Regions from separate parts of the Homo sapiens genome. Here region 2 is linked to region 1. The links are contacts of gene promoters, found by promoter capture Hi-C in human tissues and cell types (Jung and others, 2019). All regions are on one chromosome and are shown on one strand. The core of a region is centred on a gene start or on the middle of the fragment in contact, and the rest is flanking DNA. Distances in the headings are between cores, read along the strand shown. Region 1 overlaps PEAK3 (PEAK family member 3). Region 2 holds the start of ZNF554 (zinc finger protein 554).

The links. The method cuts DNA at HindIII sites, captures the fragments that hold promoters and counts their contacts. A contact is called where the count stands out against the background at its distance.
Region 2: the fragment with the promoter of ZNF554 here is called in contact with a fragment that was not itself captured in region 1 in 2 of the 25 tissues and cell types used here (aorta and dorsolateral prefrontal cortex).

The regions. Positions count from the first base shown.
Region 1 is chr19:2,272,729-2,279,697 of GRCh38, forward strand. It overlaps PEAK3 (PEAK family member 3), which reads right to left. Exons shown (of 4, transcript NM_198532.3): 3 at 5,856-6,385; 4 at 1,903-3,761. The coding sequence ends at 2,952. It overlaps OAZ1 (ornithine decarboxylase antizyme 1), which reads left to right. Exons shown (of 5, transcript NM_004152.3): 4 at 7-92; 5 at 244-760. The coding sequence ends at 380. Among named protein-coding and RNA genes, the nearest start is that of PEAK3, 6.0 kb to the right of the region's middle. RefSeq lists silencers at 139-288, 749-998 and enhancers at 1,379-1,518, 2,323-3,257. The HindIII fragment of the contact is 7,382 bases long and covers 1,846-6,969 here.
Region 2 is chr19:2,818,280-2,825,323 of GRCh38, forward strand. ZNF554 (zinc finger protein 554) reads left to right here and starts at 1,589. Exons shown (of 5, transcript NM_001102651.2): 1 at 1,589-1,845; 2 at 4,761-4,833. The coding sequence starts at 1,793. RefSeq lists a silencer at 1,628-2,067 and an enhancer at 2,000-2,693. The HindIII fragment of the contact is 22,652 bases long and covers 1-5,202 here.

The sequences.
Region 1 (6,969 bases), core at 4,287-6,786:
CTGCAGCTTTGCAGTTCTCCTGGAGTTCGCTGAGGAGCAGCTGCGAGCCGACCATGTCTTCATTTGCTTCCACAAGAACCGCGAGGACAGAGGTAGGTGACCCGTATCGCCTGCAGTAGGGTGCGTGGGGGTGCCTGCGCCGCCCCTTCATTCTCAGCCCGCAGGCACGGTCTCCCTGCGGGGGTGGGGGGTGCGGGCGGGGGGTTCTGGTCGGCAGGGGTTCTGACGGCTTCTCCCCCGCAGCCGCCTTGCTCCGAACCTTCAGCTTTTTGGGCTTTGAGATTGTGAGACCGGGGCATCCCCTTGTCCCCAAGAGACCCGACGCTTGCTTCATGGCCTACACGTTCGAGAGAGAGTCTTCGGGAGAGGAGGAGGAGTAGGGCCGCCTCGGGGCTGGGCATCCGGCCCCTGGGGCCACCCCTTGTCAGCCGGGTGGGTAGGAACCGTAGACTCGCTCATCTCGCCTGGGTTTGTCCGCATGTTGTAATCGTGCAAATAAACGCTCACTCCGAATTAGCGGTGTATTTCTTGAAGTTTAATATTGTGTTTGTGATACTGAAGTATTTGCTTTAATTCTAAATAAAAATTTATATTTTACTTTTTTATTGCTGGTTTAAGATGATTCAGATTATCCTTGTACTTTGAGGAGAAGTTTCTTATTTGGAGTCTTTTGGAAACAGTCTTAGTCTTTTAACTTGGAAAGATGAGGTATTAATCCCCTCCATTGCTCTCCAAAAGCCAATAAAGTGATTACACCCGATGCACCTGGCTCTGTGGTGGTGACGCTGGGGACTGGTGGGAGGAGTGCCTGGGACCACAGAGGGCCCTGGGTGGAGGGGTCGCGGGGGATTTGGCACCCAGGCAGCTGCGGGACCCCTCCCACGGAGGAGACCCCCTGGGCTGGGAGGCCGGGCCCTCAGCTTGGCGCCAGCCTTGCCACTGCTCGCTTGAAGCCCCTTCCTGCCTCGCGTCCCCTTCCGCCCCAGCCTGGGCCTGCGCATGGGGATGTCTGTGCTCCCAACTCAACTTTTGAGTTCGCCGTGTTACTGGCCGCCCCTAGGGACCTGCAGCGCCGTTCGGGGCAGCAGCACTTCCGGCGGGGTCGTGGCCTGGAGCGCTTCCGGGTCTGCAACCCCGCCGTCTGCCCGGCCGCAGCGCCACCTGCCGGCCGCATCCGGGAGCGCCACCCGGAAAATCAGGGCCAGGCCTGGCCGGGAAACCGGCTGGAAAGAGGAGGAAAGGAGGAACTCGAAAAGATTGTAGACTTGGCGAGCGGGCCGGGGGGATATTCAGCCGTCTGAGCGGTGGTGGGGTCGGCCGGGAGGACAAACCTGGACACAGATACCCCCAGCTCATTTGGGCAGCGCAAATGCAGAGAAGGGGCATTAGAGCTGAGGCCATGCAGGATGAATAGGAGTATGAAGCAGAGTAGAGGGGGCTGTTTTCTGGTGTAAAAAACAACTTGGGCAAAGGCGTGGAGGCTGGAAAGTAACCTCCAGGGATGAACGACATGGGGTTGGAGACTCTGAGGAGACTTTGGAAGAGCCCTGTATGTATTCTGAGGCACTGGGGAGCCATGGGAGGTGTTTGAGCTGGAGAGGGACCTCATATCTGGGGTTGGAAAGATCCTCCCAGGACTGCCATGGGGAATGGAATGGAGGGGCAACTCTGAGTCTCCAGGAAGGAAGCCACAGGCAAGGGCAGTGCAGTGTGTCAGAGGCATAAAGGAAGACTCCATCCCCCTCCAGTGAGTCTCCTCTGTGCCTGTTTATTACATCATCCTGTGGTATTAAGTGAGCACCTACTGTGTGCCAAGCCTGGCCTTTGCCCCCAGGGAACTCACAGCCTTGTGGACAGTAACAGAGGAATAAATGCTCCTGAGAGTGGGCGGAGAACGCAGGGTAAGGAGCTAGCGATGGCCCAGAGTGGGCACCTTTATTTGTTTAGAGAAAGTGAAACTGTAGCCGGGCGCGGTGGCTCACGCCTGTAATCCCAGCACTTTGGGAGGCCGAGGCGGACGGATCACGAGGTCAGGAGATGGAGACCATCCTGGCTAACACGGAGAAACCCCGTCTCTACTAAAAATACAAAAAATTAGCCGGGCGTGGTGGCGGGCGCCTGTAGTCCCAGCTACTCGGGAGGCTGAGGCAGGAGAATGGCGTGAACCCGGGAGGCGGAGCTTGCAGTAAGCCGAGATCGTCTCAAAAAAAAAAAAAAAAAAAAAAGAAAAAGAAAGTGGAACTGGAACAGTATGGCAGAGGGAACAGCCTACACAAATGCTTGGGGGCGCGAAAGAAGTTGGTGTGTCACGGAGGAACAGGGAGGGAGGCAGGGTGGGCGCAGAGGGATTGAGGGGAGGTGGCAGGGAACCGCGGGGACTGTTTTAGGGAAGGTGAGTCCAGACCCCGCTGAGATGAGCTGGGTGTCTAAGGTCCCAGGGAGCCTTCCCTTCCCGTGACACCACCAAGCAATTCTCCACCAGGGACAGGGGCATTCACATGCCCAAAATCACTGGCCATCTTCAGCACAAGGGGGTGCTCCAGAGCCAGGAATGCCTCTGGTCCCGGCATTGGCCTCTCATGGAGACAATGACAGAACCCACGCGGAAGAGCGCCCTGGCTGCTGGGGAAGGCAGAACACAGAGAGACATTGATCAGCGGGGTTGTCCACACCTGGAAGTGGCGTGGGGGCCCTGGCTTCAGAGAGCTGCTGCCCAACACAGGAGGCGCTGGCCAGCCCCCAGCCCTGGAGGGGCAGCTGCATTCCTGGGAAGCCCTTGACCCACATCCCCAGCACGGGAGGGGAGGCTCTGGAGTGGGGCATTGCTCTCTCTGCTGCGCTCCTGGACTCTGCAGGAAGAGGGTGTCTTGGCTATCATGGAGACGCTGACCTCAGCCCCAGCCCTGCCTCCTGGGCAGGCCTGGACCAGGTGTGTTCGCCCTGGGTTGGGGTCAGTCCCACAGCAGCGCCAGGGCCTGGCCCATCGAGGACTCGGTGGCCTCGGCCAGGTATTCGCAACACAGCCAGTCCTCGAGGCTGGGAGCTTCCCCACCTGCGGCCCGCTCTGCTAGGCGCAGGACCAGCAGCCCGCGGCGCACCCGCAGCCAGGGCCCGAGCGCTCGGAGCCAGGGACCAAGCGGTGCTCCGCGGCCGCGCAGCTCAGGCCCGGGCCCCCAGAGCAGCGCCTGCAGCGCGCCCCGCGTCCGGGACGCCGAGGGCCGCAAGCGGGTCAGCTGTGCTGCCAGGAGCTCCAGGCCCGCGGCCAAAGGCGTGGTCGAGGGCGCAGCAAGGCTGAGCAGCGCTCGGAGGAGGCTGCCCAGCTGCGGCGCGTGGGGGCCCGGGGATCCCGGGGGTCCAGGGGGCTGCAGACAGACGCGGCCAAAGTCAGTGAGGAGCAGGCGTGGGGGCCCCGTCGTCGCACAGCCCCGAGGTGCCACCAGCAGCAAGTTCTCCGGCCGCAACTCGACTAGGGCCGCGCCCCACGCCTCCAGGAACTTCAGGGCCGCGCTCAGCTGCAGCAGCAGCAGGGCCACAGCCCACACGAACTCCTCCGGCGGCTGCGTGCAGGCCTCCGCCAGCCACTGCGCCACCGTGCGCTCTGGAACCTCGGCTGCCAGCGCCACTGCGCCTCTCCAGGGCGCCCCGGGCAGTGTGCCTTCAGGCACCAGGCCACACAGCCCCTGCAGATTGAAGTGTGGAGACAGGGAGGCCTGCAGCTCCAGGCCCCACGGGTGGGGCACGTCCGCCCCGGGCTTGGGCACCTGCAAGGCAGAGGGGGTGTCGGGGCCTGGATCACTGGGCCCCCCACAAGCACCGCCTGCCCCAGTGCTACCTGCCCCGAAGCCTCCCACGCACACCCCCAAACTGCCCCCACTACGGCTAGGGGCTGCCTGCATCCCTCCAGCAGCAGGAGGTCAGTGTTAATTTGGAAGTTAGTCACCAGTAAGGACTTTCAGGAAAGTTAAGCCAGGGAAGAAGATGTTCCTGGGCAATGAGTTCGAAAGCAGATTCCTGGGCCGGGCGCGGTGGCTCACGCCTTCCCAGCACTTTGGGAGGCAGGGGGATCGCTGAGGTCAGGAGTTCGAGACCAGCCTGGCCAACGCAGGGAACGCTCGTCTCTACTAAAAAATGCAAAACTAGCTGGGCGTGGTGGCGCGCCTGTCATCCCAGCTACTTCGGAGGCTGAGGTGAGAGAATCGCTTGAGCCCGGGAGGTGGAGGTTGCAGTGAGCCGAGAACGCGCCACTGCACTCCAGCCTGGGCAACAGAGTGAGACTCTGTCTCAAAAACAAAAAACAAAACAAAAAACACAAAAGCAGATCCCCGGCCAGAGAGGTGTGGGAGGGGTTTTGACAAGAGCTCCAAGGCCATACCCATGGCCCCATACTTTAGAAACATGGTTTCCTGGGTTAACTGCGTTGATTCACGTGTTAGTTGCAAAATAAACAAGTCTAATATGGTCTGGATCTGTGTCCCCACCAAATCTCATTCCCCAGTGTTGGAGGTGGGGTCTGGTGGGAGGCGACTTGGATCTTGGGGGTGGTTTATCATGAATGGCTCAGCACCATCTCCCTTGGCACTGTCGTTGGGATAACGAGTGAGTTCTCGTGAGATCTGGCTGTGTAAAGGTGAGTAGCACCTCCTCCCTCCCTTCCTCCTGCTCCCACCGTGTGAGATGCCTGCTCCCGCCTCGCCTTCCACTATGATTGGAAGCTTCCTGAGGCCTCCCCAGAAGCAGAAGCCACCAGAACCATGAGCCAATTAAGGCCCTTTTCTCTATAAATTACCCAGTCTCCAGTATTCCTTTTTCTTTTCTTTTCTTTTTTCTTCTCTTTTGTTTTTCTTTTTTGAGACAGAGTCTCACTCTGTCGCCCAGGCTGGAGTGCAATAGCCCAATTTTCGAATCTCAGCTCACTGCAACCTCCGCCTCCCAGGTTCAAGTGATTCTCCTGCCTTAGCCTCCAAGTAGCTGGGACTTCAGGTGCGCACCACCGCGCCCGGCTAATTTTTGTATTTTTAGTAGAGATGGGGGTTTCACTATGTTGGCCAGGCTGGTCTCGAACTCCTGACCTCATGATCTGCCCGCCTTGGCCTTCCAAAGTGCTGAGATTACAGGCGTCAGCCACTGTGCTGCCCAGCCTTTTTTTTTTTTTTTAGACGGAGTCTCGCTCTGTCGCCCAGGCTGGAGCGCAGTGGTGCGTTCTCGGCTCACCGCAAGCTCTGCCCCCTGGGTTCATGCCATTCTCCTGCTTCAGCCTCCCAAATAGCTGGGACTACAGGTGCCCACCACCACGCCCGGCTAATTTTTTGTCTTTTTAGTAGAAACAGGGTTTCACCGTGTTAGCCAGGATGGTCTGTATCTCCTGACCTCGTGATCTGCCCGCCTCGGCCTCCCAAAGTGCTGGGATTACAGGTGTGAGCCACTGTGCCCGGCCTTTTTCTTTTTTTTTTTTTTGAGACGGAGTCTCACTCTGTTGCCCAGGCTGGAGTGCAATGGCCCAATCTTGGCTTACTGCAACCTCTGCCTCCCGGGTTCAAGCAATTCTCCTGCCTCAGTCTCCCAAGTAGCTGGGTTTACAGGCGCCCGCCACCACACCTAATTTTTGTATTTTTAGTAGAGGCTGGGTTTCACCATGTTGGCCAGGCTGGTCTTGAACTCCTGACCTCAGCTGATCCGCCCGCCTTGGCCTCCCAAAGTGCTGGGATGACAGGCGTGAGCCACCGCGCCCGGCTCCAGTATTTCTTTACAGCAGTGTGAGAACTGACTCACAGAAAGGCCAAATGAAACAAGCCCTGGGTTATGTCTAAGATGGGGCACTGGGGACACCTCAGAGAGGGTGGGGCTGTGGGGCTCACCTTGGCGACCAGGATGTGCCAGGCGTCCTCGTGCGCGCGCACCACGCGGTAATACAGGGCGTCCCCGCTCTCTGCGCAGGGTGAGCTGTCTAGGAGGCGGAAGCTGTGGCCGGGGTGGCAGGGCCCGGGGTGGCCCCCCATGAGCCGGGCACGGAGCCGGGCATAGATGGTACGGAGGCCCTGCAGCTGCCGCGCAGCCAGTGCAGTGTGCACAGCCTCCGGGCTGTGCAGATCGCGGAGGGAGAGGCCCAGTGGGGCGTCAGCCGGGCCAAAGGTCAGCTCTGCAGGGAGACAGGCTGGTCCCACTGCAGCCTGGCTCTTGTCCACACTGTGGGACCCCAGAAAGGGTCTCCGAGGCGGCTGTACTTGGATGGAGCTGGGATGGAGGGTCCTGCGGGTGGGCAGTGACTGGGTCCGGGTTAGGATCTTCTTGGGCAGGGGTGGGGGCAGGGGCTCTGGGTTGGTGGAGAGGGACCCAGGGGTCCGGAGGCGGCAGGCCTTGGAGGGCAGCAGGTGGGCACGGATCTGACCTGCAGGGAGAGACAGTGGGGGAGGGTTGAGGACAGGCGGAGTGGGAACGGGACACGTGACTCCACCTCTCAGCCTCGGTTTCCCCATCTCTAACATGGAAGTAATGAGGCTGGGCGCCGGTGGCTCATGCTTGTAATCCCAGCACTTAGGAAGGTGGAAGCCGAGGCAGGAGGATCACTGGAACCTAGGGTTTGAGACCAGCCTGGGCAACATAGTGAGACCCTGTCTCTGCAAAAATTTTTTAAAAATTTGCCGGACGCGGCCATGCACAATGGCTCATGCCTGTAATTCCAGCACTTTGGGAGGCCGAGATGGGTGGATCACGAGGTCAGGAGATCGAGACCATCCTGGCTAACACGGTGAAACCCCGTCTTTACTAAAAATACAAAAAATTAGCCGGGCTTGGTGGTGGGCGCCTGTGGTCCCAGCTACTCGGGAGGCTGAGGCAGGAAAATTGTGTGAACTTGAGAAGTGGAGCTTGCAGTGAACCGAGATTGTGCCACTGCACTCCAGCCTGGGCGGCAGAGCTTACAGAAGGGGAAACTGAGGCTTATAGGAGGATGGATCAGTTTCAGAGAGTGAT
Region 2 (7,044 bases), core at 339-2,838, 540 kb after region 1:
CAGAGCAGGTGACCAAGGATGACTAAGGTCAGAGCAGGTGACCAAGGATAACTAAGGTCAGAGCAGGTGACAAGGGTGACTAAGAACAGAGCAGGTGACCAAGGATAACTAAGGTCAGAGCAGGTGACAAGGGTGACTAAGAACAGAGCAGGTGACCAAGGATAACTAAGGTCAGAGCAGGTGACAAGGATGACTAAGGTCAGAGCAGGTGACCAAGGATGACTAAGGTCAGAGCAGGTGACCAAGGATGACTAAGGTCAGAGCAGGTGACAAGGATGACTAAGGTCAGAGCAGGTGACCAAGGATGACTAAGGTCAGAGCAGGTGACCAAGGGTGACTAAGGTCAGAGCAGGTGATAGGGGCTAGGAGGGGTTGTTTACTGAAACTAGGGGCAAGGAAACGAAAAGAACGAGGAAGTTAAAGTTTAAAATGAAGAACAAAGAATAGGTGGCCGGGCGCGGTGGCTCACGCCTGTAATCCCAGCACTTTGGGAGGCTGAGGCAGGCGGATCACGAGGTCAGGAGATCGAGACCATCCTGGCTAACACGGTGAAACTCCGTCTCTACTAAAAATACAAAAAAATTAGCCGGGCGTGGTGGCGGGCGCCTGTGGTCCCAGCTGCTTGGGAGGCTGAGGCAGGAGAATGGCGTGAACCTGGGAGGCGGAGCTTGCAGTGAGCCGAGATCGCGCCGCTGCACTCCAGCCTGGGCGACAGAGCGAGACTCCATCTCAAAAAAAAAAAAAAAAAGAACAGGGGAGCTGAATATACGGAAACATTGGTTCTTTGGAGAGGAGCTCATAACTGATTGTACTTAACAATTTACAGGCTAAAACCTTTGAAGAGGAATTTGTTGTATCCTACAACAGTATATTAATTATAGTAGTTTTACTATTTTAATTTCTCATAAATAACAATCAGTAGAATATTAAATAAATATTTAAACAATAATTTAATTTGGCTGGGCGTGGTGGCTCACGCCTGTAATCCCAGCACTTTGGGAGGCCAAGGCGGGCAGATCACTGGAAGTCAGGAGTTCGAGACCAGCCTGGCCAACATGGTGAAACCGCGTCGCTACCAAAAATATAAAAAATTAGCCGAGTGTGGTTGTGCACGCCCGTAATCCCAGCTACTTGGGAGACTGAGGCAGGATAATCGCTTGAACCCGAGGGGGCGGAGGTTTCAGTGACCTGAGATCATGCCATTGCACTCCAGCCTGGGCGACAAGAGCGAAACTCAGTCTCAAAAACAAACAACAATTACTTAAGCAATCATTTTAATAAGTATGTAATACATTATACGTTTATATAACTTGCTTAATAAATAATAGTAGTTATTAATATCCAATGGCAAGCCGCCGGGAAACGACGGAGCTGGGATTTGAGGATTGGCTCCGCGAACCCCACAACACCCGGGGACTCCAGCGAACCACACGGGGTGGATCCAACAGCCGCAGGGGCATCGTGGTCCTGCGGAGACGCCGCCCGCCCGGAGGCGGCGCTGTGACCCAGGTTGGAGAGTCAGGAGCCCAGCGCCGCGCTGCGGGGCCTGCTGGGACTTGTAGTTCGCAGGTTCGGGGTGCGCAGGCGCAGTGCCGAGTTTACCTCTGCGCGCGTCGGGGTTGGTGGCGGCGGCTGCGGCGAGTTCCTGAGGGGCGCCTGCGGGGGGCGTCCGCTCCGAGCGCCGAGGAGCCGAGCGGAGGAGGCGTCCCAGGGACACGCAGGGGAGGCCGGCCGGCCTGCACGGGGCGCTCCCGCCTCGGGGGCCCTGTCTGGCGCCTCAGCGCGCGCCCCGATGGTCACCTGCGCCCACCTGGGCCGGCGCGCGCGGCTCCCGGCAGCTCAGCCGTAAGTGCCGCCGCCTCCCGCGCCGCGACCTCCGTGCCGGGCCTGCCGGGGCTCTGGTGGGGCTGGGTCTGGCGGGGCCGGGTGGCCGGGGCATGACCCTGTCGCGATAGGGTCCCCACGGGAGGGTCGGGAGCCGGCAGCTCGCCCAGGGCCCCAACGCCCAGGATGGCACGGTCTGCCCTTGCCCTGTGAAAACGCCCCTGGGTGAGAGACGCATAAGCTTTCCGAGGCCCAGCCTGCAAGGAGAGGGAGAAGACGCATTGACTCTACCCTAAAGGCAGAGAGGGGCTGCCACGCTCGCACTGCAGTGAGGCCACATCAGAGGGTCTGAGCGAGGGGCGGTCCTGCCCTCCAGGGGACACCGGGCGATGTCTGGGGACGTCTGTGGTTGTCATAACTGGGGGCAGTTCCTGGCATGGAGTAGGTGGAGGCCAGGGATGCAACTCAGCACCCTGCCCAGCCCAGAGAATGACCCAGGCTCCAGTGTCCACAGCGCCCTGAGGGAGAGACCTCACTTATACGTTAGCACCGCTGTCCTGGTGATAAGACAGCAAGGGTCCTTTTTTTTTTTTTTTTGAGACGGAGTCTGGAGTGCAATGGCATGATCTCGGCTCACTGCAACCTCCGCCTCCCGGGTTCAAGCCATTGTCCTGCCTCAGCCTCCCAAGTAGCTGGGATTACAGGCGTATGCCACCACGCCCGGCTAATTTTTGCATTTTTAGTAGAGACGGGGTTTCACCATGTTGGCCAGGCTGGTCTCGAACTCCCACCTCAGGTGATCCACCCGCCTCAGCCTCCCAAAGTGCTGGGATTACAGGCGTGAGCCACCGCGCAGCTGCAAGGGTCTATTCTGTTTATACCCACCACCCATGTTGAGGAATGAGGGAGGCAGCTGACCTTTCTGCTGCTCTAGCAACCCCAACCTCCCTGAACTCTCCCCTACCCAAACAGGTTGGTTTCTTTTTCTTCTTCTTTTTTTTTTCTTGAGACAGTCTCGCCCTATTGCCCAGGCTGGAGTGCAGTTGCACGATCTCGGCTCACTGCATCCACCTCGTGGGTTCAAGTGATTCTCCTGCCTCAGCCTCCCAAGTAGCTGGGATTACAGGTGCACGCCACCCCGCCTGGCTAATTTTTATATTTTTAGTAGATACAGAGTTTCTCCATGTTGGCCAGCCAGGCTGGTATCGAACTCCTGACCTCAGGTGATCCACCTACCTCGGCCTCCCAAAGTGACCACTGCGCCCGGCGCCTTTGGTTCTTACATGAGCCTCCTGGAGCTGCTGTGACAATGCACCACAAACCAGGGGGCAGGGGGAGGCTTGAAATTTATTCTCTCACAAGTCTGGAGGCCAGAAGCCCAACATGAAGATGTGGTGGGGCCGTGGTGCTTCTGAAGGCTCTGGCGGGAGGATCTTCTCTGTCTCTTCCAGCTTCTGGGGGTGGCCTGCCATAGTTGGTGTCCCTTGGCTTGGGGCCACATCACTCCAAGCTCTGCCTGCATCATCATGTGGCCTTCTTCCCTGTGTCTCTTTCTCCTTTTTTGTTTTTATTTTTATTTTTTGAGATGGGGTCTCGGTCTGTCACCTGGCTGGAGTGCAGTGGCACGATCTCGGCTCACTGCAATCTCTACCCCACAGGATCAAGCAATTCTGCCTCAGCCTCTCGAGTAGCTGGGATTACAGGTGCACGCCACCACACCCAGCTAATTTTTGTATTTTTAGTAGAGACGGGGGTTTTGCCATGTTGGCCAGGCTGGTCTCGAACTCCTGACCTCGTGGTCTGCCCGCCTTGGCCTTTCAAAATGCTGGGATTACAGACGTGAGTCACCTAGTCCAGCTGTCTCTTTCTCTTATAAGGACAATACTCATGACCCCAGTAGCTGGAAGAGGCGGAAGGATTTTTCCTGAGAGCTTTTGTTTCTTCTTTTCCTTATCTTTTCTTTTTGAGATAGAGTCTTGCTCCATTGCCCAGGCTGGAGTGCAGTGGCACAGTCTTGGCTCACTGTAACCCCTGTCTCCCAGGTTCAAATAATTATCGTGCCTCAGCCTCCTGAGTAGCTGGGTTTACAGGGATGTGCCACCACACCTGGCTATTTTTTTTGTATTTTTAGTAGACGAGGTTTCACCATGTTGGCCAGGCTGGTCTTGAACCCCTGGGCTCAAGTGATCCTCGCGCCTCAGCCTCCCAAAGTGCTGGGATTACAAGTATGAGCCACCATACCCGAGCTTTTCCCTAGAGCCTTCAGAGGGAGTACAGCCCTGCCCACACCTTGATCTCAGACTTCCAGAACTGGGAAAGGATATATTCCTGTTATTTTAAGCCCCCGGGTTACTGGCACCTTGTGAAAACAGCCTCAGGAAATGCATGGAGCGCTTCACTTCCTAATGGAGCCTGGGTGTTTTGTAAACTTGTTTGCTTCCAAGGGCCTCAGGACCTTCATCCATAAAATGGGGCCTTTAAGACCCCTGGCCATGGATGTGTGTGGCGTCTCACACCTTTAATCCCAGAATTTAGGGAGGCTGAGGAAGGTGGATCCCTTGAGCCCAGGAGCTATAGACCTGGGACAACATAGCAAGGCCCCGTCTCTACAGAAAATACAAAAAATTAGCCGGACATGGTGGTGCCTGTAGTTCCAGCCACAGGCTGAGGTAGGAGGATAGCTTGAGCCCAGGAGGTTGAAGCTGCCATGAGATGAGCTATGATTGCACCACTGCACTGCAGCCTGGGCAACGGAGGGAGACCCTATCTCTTAAAAAACACAAACCCTGGCTTCAGTCCTGGGTTCTGGCTTCAGTTTACCTCCCTCTGTGTATGGGGGGCCCCTTCAAGCAAATGGAGGTTCTCCAGGCCAAGGGCTCTGGGATCTGGGGACTGGCCTGGATCTGGTATTCGCAGCGCCTTTTTCCTCCCCACAGCTCTGCCTGCCCAGGAACCTGCTTTTCCCAAGAGGAGAGAATGGCTGCTGGGTACCTGCCCCGCTGGTCCCAGGTGAGATGTCCTCATTCTCCCAAAGGGCACCCAGTATATCCAGAGGGAACAATCCCACCAGAAACTCAGTCCTCGATAGAGGAGACCCCTTGCTATGTGAAAGTTCAGGAGAATTCCCCAGGAGTGGTGTGTGGGATGAGGTACTCCTGCTGCTCCCAGGTGTAAAGAGTGACCCTCAGTATTGGGACTGAGCACAGCCTCTCCCTAGGAGACAGTATTACGGGATCCCTGGGGTGTCAGTTTTTCTGGCTGGAAACCTCTGTGGCTGTGGTACCTTTGCCCAAGTTCTTGTCCTGCATCCAAGAAGAATGAGGTATACAGACAAGTGAAGGGTGAAGAAGAGTTGTATTTACTGTTAGAGCAGCTCAGAGGATTGAGCAGCTCCTCCCTGTTGGCAGGTTGTCTGGTCGAGTGTTCAGCTCTCAGCAGAGAGGAGGCCTAGGAGAGGGTGGCTCCTCTCCACAGGCAAGTCATTCGGACGTCTCTGCAGGTCTCTGAAGCTCTCAGCAGGGACGGTAGCTCCTCTCTGAAGCTCTCAGCAGGGATGGTAGCTCTTCTCTGCCGGCAGATCATCTCTGCAGCCTTCAGTGGAGAGGGTACTCCTCTCTGCAGCTGGTCGTCCGGTCCCATCCTGTCATCTGTCTGCCTTCTTTGTCCTCTGGCCGTCCTCTGCCCTGCTAAGCCTGAGCCCAGGGCTTTTACGGACCTCAGAGGGGAGGAAGTGTGTGCCGACTGGTTCATGGGCGGCCATGGGAGGGTCGAAAGAGGCACCATGAGTCCCCACTCTGGTCTGTAGGACTGGCAGCCTGGCCCCCAGTCTTCAGGCCCTCCCTGGCCTGAAGGTGGGGCCTTACTGGGGACCCACCCCCTTCTGCCCAGGAATTAATCTGCCTCCTGCTGCCATTCACGGCCCTAGGACTTGGCCCAAACCCCACTCTGAGAGAGGCCAGGCAGTGGGAGCAGACACCCCTGAACCTGCAGGGACTAGGGAGTCCTTCCTGAGACTCCTGAGGGTGCAGGTTGCAGAGATGCCTGGGTCCTGCGCCTGGGAGGACAGCCACGGCTGCACCCAGGAGCTCCTGCCTCGCCCACTTGGAGGAGGCAGGGCTCTCACTTGTCTCCAGCTCCTGCCTGCTTCCTGGAGTGCGAGGCCCAGGTCTGCAGCTGCGGGTCTGGCAGCTTCAGCTGCACCCAGGAGGGCAGATCCTGCCTCTTCTCAGTTCCCCCAAGAGCACAGGGAGGCTCGAATCCACAGCTACAGGAGGACGGGGCTCCCACTAGCTCCATGGAGTGTGCAGCCCCGGTGGCACCTCCCTGCTGCTGCTGACATGATGGCATCAGCCACTGCCATCAACAGGTGGGATCCAGCACCTTCCCCTGGAGAGCAGGCAGTGCTGCCCAGGAAGGCATCCTCCTCTTTACCTGAAAGAATATTTCTGTAACTGTGATAAAACACACATGAAATACATATGAACTTTACCATCTTAGCCGTTGATAAAACACACATGAAATACATATGAACTTTACCGTCTTAGCTGTTGATAAAACACACATGAAATACATATGAACTTTACCATCTTAGCCGTTGATGAAACACATGAAATACATATGAACTTTACCGTCTTAGCCGTTTTCAAGTGCACAGCTCAATGGCATTAAGTTGGACAACCATCACCACCCTCCTCTCTAGAACTTCCTCCTCTTCCCAAACTGAAGCTCTGTCCCCATGAGACACTCATTCCCTGTCCCCCTCCCCAGCCCCTGGTACCCCCCATCCTACTTTCTGTCTCTCTGAATCTGACAACTCTAGGGACCTCCTAGGAGTGGAACCACACAGGCTTTGTCCTTCTGTGTCTGGCTTCTCTCACTGAGCATAACGTGATTGCAGTTGTTTTTTTTTTTTTTTTTTTTTTTTTTTGAGACAAGGTCTTGCTCTGTTGCACAGGTTGGAGTGCAGTGGCGCGATCTTGGCTCACTGCAACCTCTGCCGCCCAAGCTCAAGCTATTCTTGTGTCTCAGCCTCCCAAGTAGTTGGGATTATGGGCATGTGCCACCATACCCAGCCAATTTTTGTATTATTAGTAGAGACGGGGTTTCACCATGTTGGCCCAGGCTGGCTGTGAACTCCTGGGTTCAGGTGATCCACCCACCTTGGCCTCCCAAAGTGCTGGGATTACAGGTGTGAGCCACCACGTCCGCCCTCTGCAGTTT